2 separate regions of the Homo sapiens genome follow, and region 1 is linked to region 2. Evidence: promoter capture Hi-C in human tissues and cell types (Jung and others, 2019). All regions are on one chromosome and are shown on one strand. Each heading gives the region's core, a stretch centred on a gene start or on the middle of the fragment in contact. The rest is flanking DNA. Distances are from core to core; before and after follow the strand shown.

Region 1 (4,531 bases), core at 1,410-3,909, 96 kb after region 2:
TTAGCCTGGCTTGTGCCCAGGAATGAGCAAGGACAGCCACCTTGAGGCTAGAAGCCAGATGAAGTCAGCCATGCTAGCTTACTCTCGCCATCTTAATCCTTGCAAAAGTGGTTTCACTCTCTACAATGACTCACCAGGGGTCAGAGGCAAGAGGAGAGGTCTGCAGTCCCCAAAGCTCATGGCTCATTTCACCCATTTCCCTCCCGACTCCACCCTCATTCAGCTATGGGGCTCCCATCCTCCAGTCATTCCCTAGAGACTTCTGGTGTCCAATTTGGCATGTAAGAAGCTTGAAATCTGTCACTCAGTTATAACAAGTATAAAACTGAACAAACTGAAAAATCAACAACTCTTTTAGATCCCTCAGAGAAGCTAGGCCTCGGTGTTAATTGCCCCGCATATTGGAGAGACCGACAGGCAAAGATGGAGCAGCACACCTCACCTGGGCAGAAGCCCAGGGACAGAAACCCTGCAGAACCAGCGCTGGGGTCAGAAATCTGAACTGTAACTGACAAATTGCTGGAGGCTCAGCATGGACATGCCCCAGAGTTAAACTAAACACTCCAGGGGAGGGATCAATCTTGGGGCTGGGACAAGGAGGGACTCTTTTGTGAGTCTTAACTCCTAGAGCTACCAGATTCTCATAGTGAATAGGCAACAAAGATCCCCTCCTCCTTCCTGAAGCGGGAGGGGGAAAGGAATTATTTGGAAAGATCTCCGTGAATTCTATTCTTCTTAGCAACAGCTGCCTTTAAGAGAAACTTTTACCAGAGCCTGACCTGCTGGGGTTTTATGGGAGCCTAACTGGCCTGGCAGTGGGTAAATGTCCAACTCCAGCCCCCTGTAGCCATCATGTCCCACCTAAGGGGGCAAAAATACAGAGAGTCACTTATGAAGTTCACAGCCCAGGCTGCAGACCTCATCCAGGACCACAGAACCCTTCCCTCCCAACACTCACCACAGCGTCACTGAACACCTGCTCACCCAAGTTCCTTTTACCCAGAATATCATGTCTGGCTTTCAACAAAACTGCACAAGACAGACTAAGGCAAAAACAAAAAAAAATGCAATTTGAAACTCAGAACAACAATCAGAACCAGACTCAGATGTGGCAGGGATGTTGAAATTAGCAGAACGGGAATTTAAAACAACTCTGGTTAATACAGTAAAGGTTATGATGGAAAAAGTAGACCCCATGCAGGAACAGATGGGTGATGTAAGCAGAGAGATCGATATTCTAAGACAGAACCAAAAGAAATGCTAGAGATAAAAAAAGAAACCCTCCTGTAAGGTAAATGAAGAATGCCCTCAATGGGCTTACTGGTAGCCTGGACACAGCTGAGGAAAGAATCTCTAGCTTGAGGGTGTGTCAGTAGAAACTTCCAAAACTGAACAGCAAAGTTTTGTGTGTGTATGTGTGTGTGTGTGTGTGTGTGTGTGTGTGTGTTGTTTTGTTTGTTTTTTTTTTTTTTGAGACAGAGTCTCGCTCTGTACCCCAGGCTGGAGTGAAGTGATGCTATCTCAGCTCACTGCAAGCTCTGCCTCCTGGGTTCACGCCATTCTCCTGCCTCAGCCTCCCAAATAGCTGGGACCACAGGCGCCCGCCACCATGCCCGGCTAATTTTTTGTATTTTTAGTAGAGACGGAGTTTCACCGTGTTATCCAGGATGGTCTCGACCTCCCAACCTCATGATCTGCCCGCCTTGGCCTCCAAAAGTGCTGGGATTACAGGCATGAGCCACCATGCCCGGCCTGAAACAGCAAAGCTTTAAAAGAGTGGGAAAAGGCCGGGCGTGGTTGTTCATGCTTGTAATCCCTGCACTTTGGGAGGCTGAGGCGGGTGGATCACCTGAGGTCAGGAGTTCGAGACCAGCCTGGCCAACATGATGATACCCTGTCTCTACTAAAAATACAAAAAATTAGCCAGGCATGATGACAGATGCCTATAATCCCAGCTACTCAGGAGGCTGAGGCAAGAGAATTGCTTGAACCTGGGAGGTAGAGATTGTAGTGAGCCAAGATAGCGCGATTTCACTCCAGCCTGGGCAACAAGAGCAAAACTCTGCCTCAAAAAAAAAAAAAGAGTGGGTAAAAAAAGTGGAAAAGCAGATTCAACTTCACATTCAAGATTTTGTATTGACAATGGCATATTTTATATTTTCTAAAAGCTGTAACATACATGTAATGGGAATACTGGTGGTTCCTGGGACCAGGTGGAGCTGGCCAGCCCTGTGCTGTCTGATGGGCCCACTGCTTGTTCCACACACATGTGTCCCTCATGATGATGCCATTATCATAAGATGGGGTCTTCGGGTGGGGAGATGCACCAGCCACCGGCATCTCACTTAGACTCTGCCCAATTCGGGCTAATTTAATCAAATTCTAGTTGTGTTTCCTGAGGCGTAAAGAAAAGGAGGAAGGTGTTTCATATGCCTGTTTAGGCCCCTTCCTATTTTGCCTAACTCTGCACAGGAAATTGAGGTGAGGGCTCTTTTGACATTTACTGACATACACACATCACATCTCCTAATTTGGTATTTTTCTTTTCTGTGTATTATTGAGACATCTCAGACTTTCCCTCTGACCAGTTCTGTCTTCCTAACAGGACTCACAATTCTCTCTCTACCCAGAGAGTCACTGATTTCAAACCAAAGTCAGCATCTTTCTTTGAGCTTAACATGATTATGCTGGTCTTCAGCATTTAGCAGACCTAAACCTTATTATGTTATCAAGAGAAATGCTACAGCAACCAATTGACCTCAGACCTTTCGACCATTAATAATAATTTCCACTGATAGAAAAAAAATTAATTTCCCCCAAATTTCTTTTTTTTTTTTCACTATAGTGAGATCATAACTCCTTTGTCTAAACTCCTGACAAATTTTTAAGGGCAAAATGGACTATTACAGATGGAGAATCCCAAATCCAAAAATCCAAAATACAAAATGTGCCAATATCCAAAATTTTTTGACCACTGGCATGATGTTCAAAGGAAATGCTCACTGGAGCATTTTGAAATTTTAGATTTTCAGATTTGGGATGCTAAACCGATACTTGTAATACAAATATTCCAAAATAAAAAATAATTAGAAATCCAAAACACTTTTGCTCTTATGCATAAGAGATACTCAAACTCTATTAATTATAGACACCAAGCTGTACAGCAGATCTCTAGAACCTCCATATTTTGCATAATTGAAACTGCACACCCAAGGAACAACTCCCTGCCAGCCCTTGGAAATCACCACTCTGCTCTTTTATTCTTTTTTCTTCTTTTTTTTTTTTTTTTTTTTTTTTAGATAGAGTTTTACTCTTGTCACCCAGGCTGGAGTGCAATGGTGTGATCTTGGCTCACTGCAACCTCCGCCTCCCAGGTTCAAGCAATTCTCCCTAGCCTTCTTAAGTAGCTGGGATTACAGGCATGTGCCACCACACCTGGCTAATTTTTGTATTTTTAGTAGAGACGGGGTTTCACCATGTTGGCCAGGCTGGTCTGGAACTCCCGACCTCAGGTGATCCGCCCGCCTCAGCATCCCAAAAGGCTGGGATTACAGGCATGAGCCACCGCACCCGGTCTGCATTCTACTCTCTGATTCCATGAGTTTGACTACTCTAGGGACCTCGTATTCGTGGAACCGTACAGTAGTTGTCCTTGTACGACTGACTTCTTTCACTTAACATAATCTCCAATGGGAGAAAATATTTGCAAAGATTCTTCCCAAATGTCTCTCTCATATCCATCAAACACAGAGTCCATGAGGACCAGATTGCCAGCAGCTTCATGCTCCCTCTTTCCACCAGTCAGTTCTGCATTTGCAAACGTTCATATGTATTTCTTATTAAGTTCCACGGAGTCCTCACCTGCCCTCTGCAGGAGGAGAAAACACATTAAGGACTGAGGACAGAGAACATGGTTCTGCTCCAAAGCCACCAGCTCCTGCATGTCCCCGCCCTCTTTCTAAGTTGGGATTCTACTCTTCCTGTTGTTGTTGTTTGTTGTTGTTGTTGTTGTTGTTGTTTGTTGTTTGTTGTTGTTACGGAGTCTTGCTCTGTCACTCAGGCTGGAGTGCAGTCGTGTAATCTCGGCTCACTACAACCTCTGCCTCCCAGGTTCAAGTGATTCTCCTTCCTCAGCCTCCCGAGTAGCTGGAATTACAGGCATGCTCCACCACACCCAGCTAATTTTTGTATTTTTAGTAGAGACTGGGTTTTTCGCCATGTTGGTCAGGCTGGTCTCGAACTCCTGACCTCAGGTGATCTGCCCACCTCGGCCTCCCCAAGTGCTGGGATTACAGGTGTGAGCCACCGCACCCGGCCTTCTACTATACCTTTTACTGACTCACTGTCTCATGTCAGTCACCATGATATACCTGGAAAGAATAACCTCACCTTGTAATTCTGAGACCTCAGCACCAGCATGTTCCAGGTGAGGACCCCAAGGTCAGCCAGGCAGTCAGCCATCAGGGAAGGAACAGGAGAGGTGCCAGGGGATGTGACTCCTGGTCCTGTGTCTGTCCAACACCCAATGCTG
Region 2 (4,688 bases), core at 2,189-4,688:
GAGAGTAAAGCTGGGGGCACAAACCTCAGCACTGCCAGGACACACACCCTTCTCGTGGATTCTGACTTTATCTGACCCGGCCCACTGTCCAGATCTTGTTGTGGGATTGGGACAAGGGAGGTCATAAAGCCTGTCCCCAGGGCACTCTGTGTGAGCACACGAGACCTCCCCACCCCCCCACCGTTAGGTCTCCACACATAGATCTGACCATTAGGCATTGTGAGGAGGACTCTAGCGCGGGCTCAGGGATCACACCAGAGAATCAGGTACAGAGAGGAAGACGGGGCTCGAGGAGCTGATGGATGACACAGAGCAGGGTTCCTGCAGTCCACAGGTCCAGCTCACCCTGGTGTAGGTGCCCCATCCCCCTGATCCAGGCATCCCTGACACAGCTCCCTCCCGGAGCCTCCTCCCAGGTGACACATCAGGGTCCCTCACTCAAGCTGTCCAGAGAGGGCAGCACCTTGGACAGCGCCCACCCCACTTCACTCTTCCTCCCTCACAGGGCTCAGGGCTCAGGGCTCAAGTCTCAGAACAAATGGCAGAGGCCAGTGAGCCCAGAGATGGTGACAGGGCAATGATCCAGGGGCAGCTGCCTGAAACGGGAGCAGGTGAAGCCACAGATGGGAGAAGATGGTTCAGGAAGAAAAATCCAGGAATGGGCAGGAGAGGAGAGGAGGACACAGGCTCTGTGGGGCTGCAGCCCAGGATGGGACTAAGTGTGAAGACATCTCAGCAGGTGAGGCCAGGTCCCATGAACAGAGAAGCAGCTCCCACCTCCCCTGATGCACGGACACACAGAGTGTGTGGTGCTGTGCCCCCAGAGTCGGGCTCTCCTGTTCTGGTCCCCAGGGAGTGAGAAGTGAGGTTGACTTGTCCCTGCTCCTCTCTGCTACCCCAACATTCACCTTCTCCTCATGCCCCTCTCTCTCAAATATGATTTGGATCTATGTCCCCGCCCAAATCTCATGTCAAATTGTAAACCCCAATGTTGGAGGTGGGGCCTTGTGAGAAGTGATTGGATAATGCGGGTGGATTTTCTGCTTTGATGCTGTTTCTGTGATAGAGATCTCACATGATCTGGTTGTTTAAAAGTGTGTAGCACCTCTCCCCTCTCTCTCTCTCTCTCTTACTCATGCTCTGCCATGTAAGACGTTCCTGTTTCCCCTTCACCGTCCAGAATGATTGTAAGTTTTCTGAGGCCTCCCCAGGAGCAGAAGCCACTATGCTTCCTGTACAACTGCAGAATGATGAGCGAATTAAACCTCTTTTCTTTATAAATTACCCAGTCTCAGGTATTTCTTTATAGCAATGCGAGGACAGACTAATACAATCTTCTACTCCCAGATCCCCGCACACGCTTAGCCCCAGACATCACTGCCCCTGGGAGCATGCACAGCGCAGCCTCCTGCCGACAAAAGCAAAGTCACAAAAGGTGACAAAAATCTGCATTTGGGGACATCTGATTGTGAAAGAGGGAGGACAGTACACTTGTAGCCACAGAGACTGGGGCTCACCGAGCTGAAACCTGGTAGCACTTTGGCATAACATGTGCATGACCCGTGTTCAATGTCTAGAGATCAGTGTTGAGTAAAACAGCCTGGTCTGGGGCCGCTGCTGTCCCCACTTCCCTCCTGTCCACCAGAGGGCGGCAGAGTTCCTCCCACCCTGGAGCCTCCCCAGGGGCTGCTGACCTCCCTCAGCCGGGCCCACAGCCCAGCAGGGTCCACCCTCACCCGGGTCACCTCGGCCCACGTCCTCCTCGCCCTCCGAGCTCCTCACACGGACTCTGTCAGCTCCTCCCTGCAGCCTATCGGCCGCCCACCTGAGGCTTGTCGGCCGCCCACTTGAGGCCTGTCGGCTGCCCTCTGCAGGCAGCTCCTGTCCCCTACACCCCCTCCTTCCCCGGGCTCAGCTGAAAGGGCGTCTCCCAGGGCAGCTCCCTGTGATCTCCAGGACAGCTCAGTCTCTCACAGGCTCCGACGCCCCCTATGCTGTCACCTCACAGCCCTGTCATTACCATTAACTCCTCAGTCCCATGAAGTTCACTGAGCGCCTGTCTCCCGGTTACAGGAAAACTCTGTGACAGGGACCACGTCTGTCCTGCTCTCTGTGGAATCCCAGGGCCCAGCCCAGTGCCTGACACGGAACAGATGCTCCATAAATACTGGTTAAATGTGTGGGAGATCTCTAAAAAGAAGCATATCACCTCCGTGTGGCCCCCAGCAGTCAGAGTCTGTTCCATGTGGACACAGGGGCACTGGCACCAGCATGGGAGGAGGCCAGCAAGTGCCCGCGGCTGCCCCAGGAATGAGGCCTCAACCCCCAGAGCTTCAGAAGGGAGGACAGAGGCCTGCAGGGAATAGATCCTCCGGCCTGACCCTGCAGCCTAATCCAGAGTTCAGGGTCAGCTCACACCACGTCGACCCTGGTCAGCATCCCTAGGGCAGTTCCAGACAAGGCCGGAGGTCTCCTCTTGCCCTCCAGGGGGTGACATTGCACACAGACATCACTCAGGAAACGGATTCCCCTGGACAGGAACCTGGCTTTGCTAAGGAAGTGGAGGTGGAGCCTGGTTTCCATCCCTTGCTCCAACAGACCCTTCTGATCTCTCCCACATACCTGCTCTGTTCCTTTCTGGGTCCTATGAGGACCCTGTTCTGCCAGGGGTCCCTGTGCAACTCCAGACTCCCTCCTGGTACCACCATGGGGAAGGTGGGGTGATCACAGGACAGTCAGCCTCGCAGAGGACAGAGACCACCCAGGACTGTCAGGGAGAACATGGACAGGCCCTGAGCCGCAGCTCAGCCAACAGACACGGAGAGGGAGGGTCCCCCTGGAGCCTTCCCCAAGGACAGCAGAGCCCAGAGTCACCCACCTCCCTCCACCACAGTCCTCTCTTTCCAGGACACACAAGACACCTCCCCCTCCACATGCAGGATCTGGGGACTCCTGAGACCTCTGGGCCTGGGTCTCCATCCCTGGGTCAGTGGCGGGGTTGGTGGTACTGGAGACAGAGGGCTGGTCCCTCCCCAGCCACCACCCAGTGAGCCTTTTTCTAGCCCCCAGAGCCACCTCTGTCACCTTCCTGTTGGGCATCATCCCACCTTCCCAGAGCCCTGGAGAGCATGGGGAGACCCGGGACCCTGCTGGGTTTCTCTGTCACAAAGGAAAATAATCCCCCTGGTGTGACAGACCCAAGGACAGAACACAGCAGAGGTCAGCACTGGGGAAGACAGGTTGTCCTCCCAGGGGATGGGGGTCCATCCACCTTGCCGAAAAGATTTGTCTGAGGAACTGAAAATAGAAGGGAAAAAAGAGGAGGGACAAAAGAGGCAGAAATGAGAGGGGAGGGGACAGAGGACACCTGAATAAAGACCACACCCATGACCCACGTGATGCTGAGAAGTACTCCTGCCCTAGGAAGAGACTCAGGGCAGAGGGAGGAAGGACAGCAGACCAGACAGTCACAGCAGCCTTGACAAAACGTTCCTGGAACTCAAGCTCTTCTCCACAGAGGAGGACAGAGCAGACAGCAGAGACCATGGAGTCTCCCTCGGCCCCTCCCCACAGATGGTGCATCCCCTGGCAGAGGCTCCTGCTCACAGGTGAAGGGAGGACAACCTGGGAGAGGGTGGGAGGAGGGAGCTGGGGTCTCCTGGGTAGGACAGGGCTGTGAGACGGACAGAGGGCTCCTGTTGGAGCCTGAATAGGGAAGAGGACATCAGAGAGGGACAGGAGTCACACCAGAAAAATCAAATTGAACTGGAATTGGAAAGGGGCAGGAAAACCTCAAGAGTTCTATTTTCCTAGTTAATTGTCACTGGCCACTACGTTTTTAAAAATCATAATAACTGCATCAGATGACACTTTAAATAAAAACATAACCAGGGCATGAAACACTGTCCTCATCCGCCTACCGCGGACATTGGAAAATAAGCCCCAGGCTGTGGAGGGCCCTGGGAACCCTCATGAACTCATCCACAGGAATCTGCAGCCTGTCCCAGGCACTGGGGTGCAACCAAGATCACACAAATCCCTGCCCTCATGAAGCTCATGCTCTCATGGGGAGGAAGACAGACATACAAAGAGATCTAGAATGTGAGGTCAGGTGTTGACAAGAGCCCTGGAGGGAATAGAGCAGGGAAAGGTCAGAAAAGGAAGACCCAGGGTCTCTAGAGGAGGTGTCAGGGAAGGGATCTCCCAAGAATGCCCTGATGTGAGCAGGACCTGAAGGCAATGGGGAGGGAGCCGTGAAGACCCCTGGAAAAGCAGATTCCACACAGGGAAATGCCAAGGTCAGAGGTGCTAAGGAAATAGGAGACACACTGCTGACCTTGACCTAGTAGGACACACACACACACACACACACACACACACTCACTCACTCCAGGGCTGGGGGATGAAGAGACCTGCTCAGGACCCAGGACCCCATTTTTCCACCCTAATGCATAGGTCCCAATATTGACCGATGCTCTCTGCTCTCTCCTAGCCTCACTTCTAACCTTCTGGAACCCGCCCACCACTGCCAAGCTCACTATTGAATCCACGCCGTTCAATGTCGCAGAGGGGAAGGAGGTGCTTCTACTTGTCCACAATCTGCCCCAGCATCTTTTTGGCTACAGCTGGTACAAAGGTGAAAGAGTGGATGGCAACCGTCAAATTATAGGATATGTAATAGGAACTCA

Evidence for each region. The method cuts DNA at HindIII sites, captures the fragments that hold promoters and counts their contacts. A contact is called where the count stands out against the background at its distance.
Region 1: a fragment that was not itself captured here is called in contact with the fragment with the promoter of CEACAM5 in region 2 in 3 of the 25 tissues and cell types used here (heart left ventricle, stomach and thymus).

The regions. Positions count from the first base shown.
Region 1 is chr19:41,802,013-41,806,543 of GRCh38, forward strand. The region is part of intron 2 of CEACAM3 (CEA cell adhesion molecule 3); the gene reads left to right. Among named protein-coding and RNA genes, the nearest start is that of CEACAM3, 7.7 kb to the left of the region's middle. The HindIII fragment of the contact is 7,650 bases long and covers 1-4,531 here.
Region 2 is chr19:41,705,188-41,709,875 of GRCh38, forward strand. CEACAM5 (CEA cell adhesion molecule 5) reads left to right here and starts at 3,439. Exons shown (of 10, transcript NM_004363.6): 1 at 3,439-3,608; 2 at 4,493-4,688. The coding sequence starts at 3,545. RefSeq lists silencers at 1,560-1,679, 1,700-1,749, 1,780-1,829. The HindIII fragment of the contact is 20,290 bases long and covers 1-4,688 here.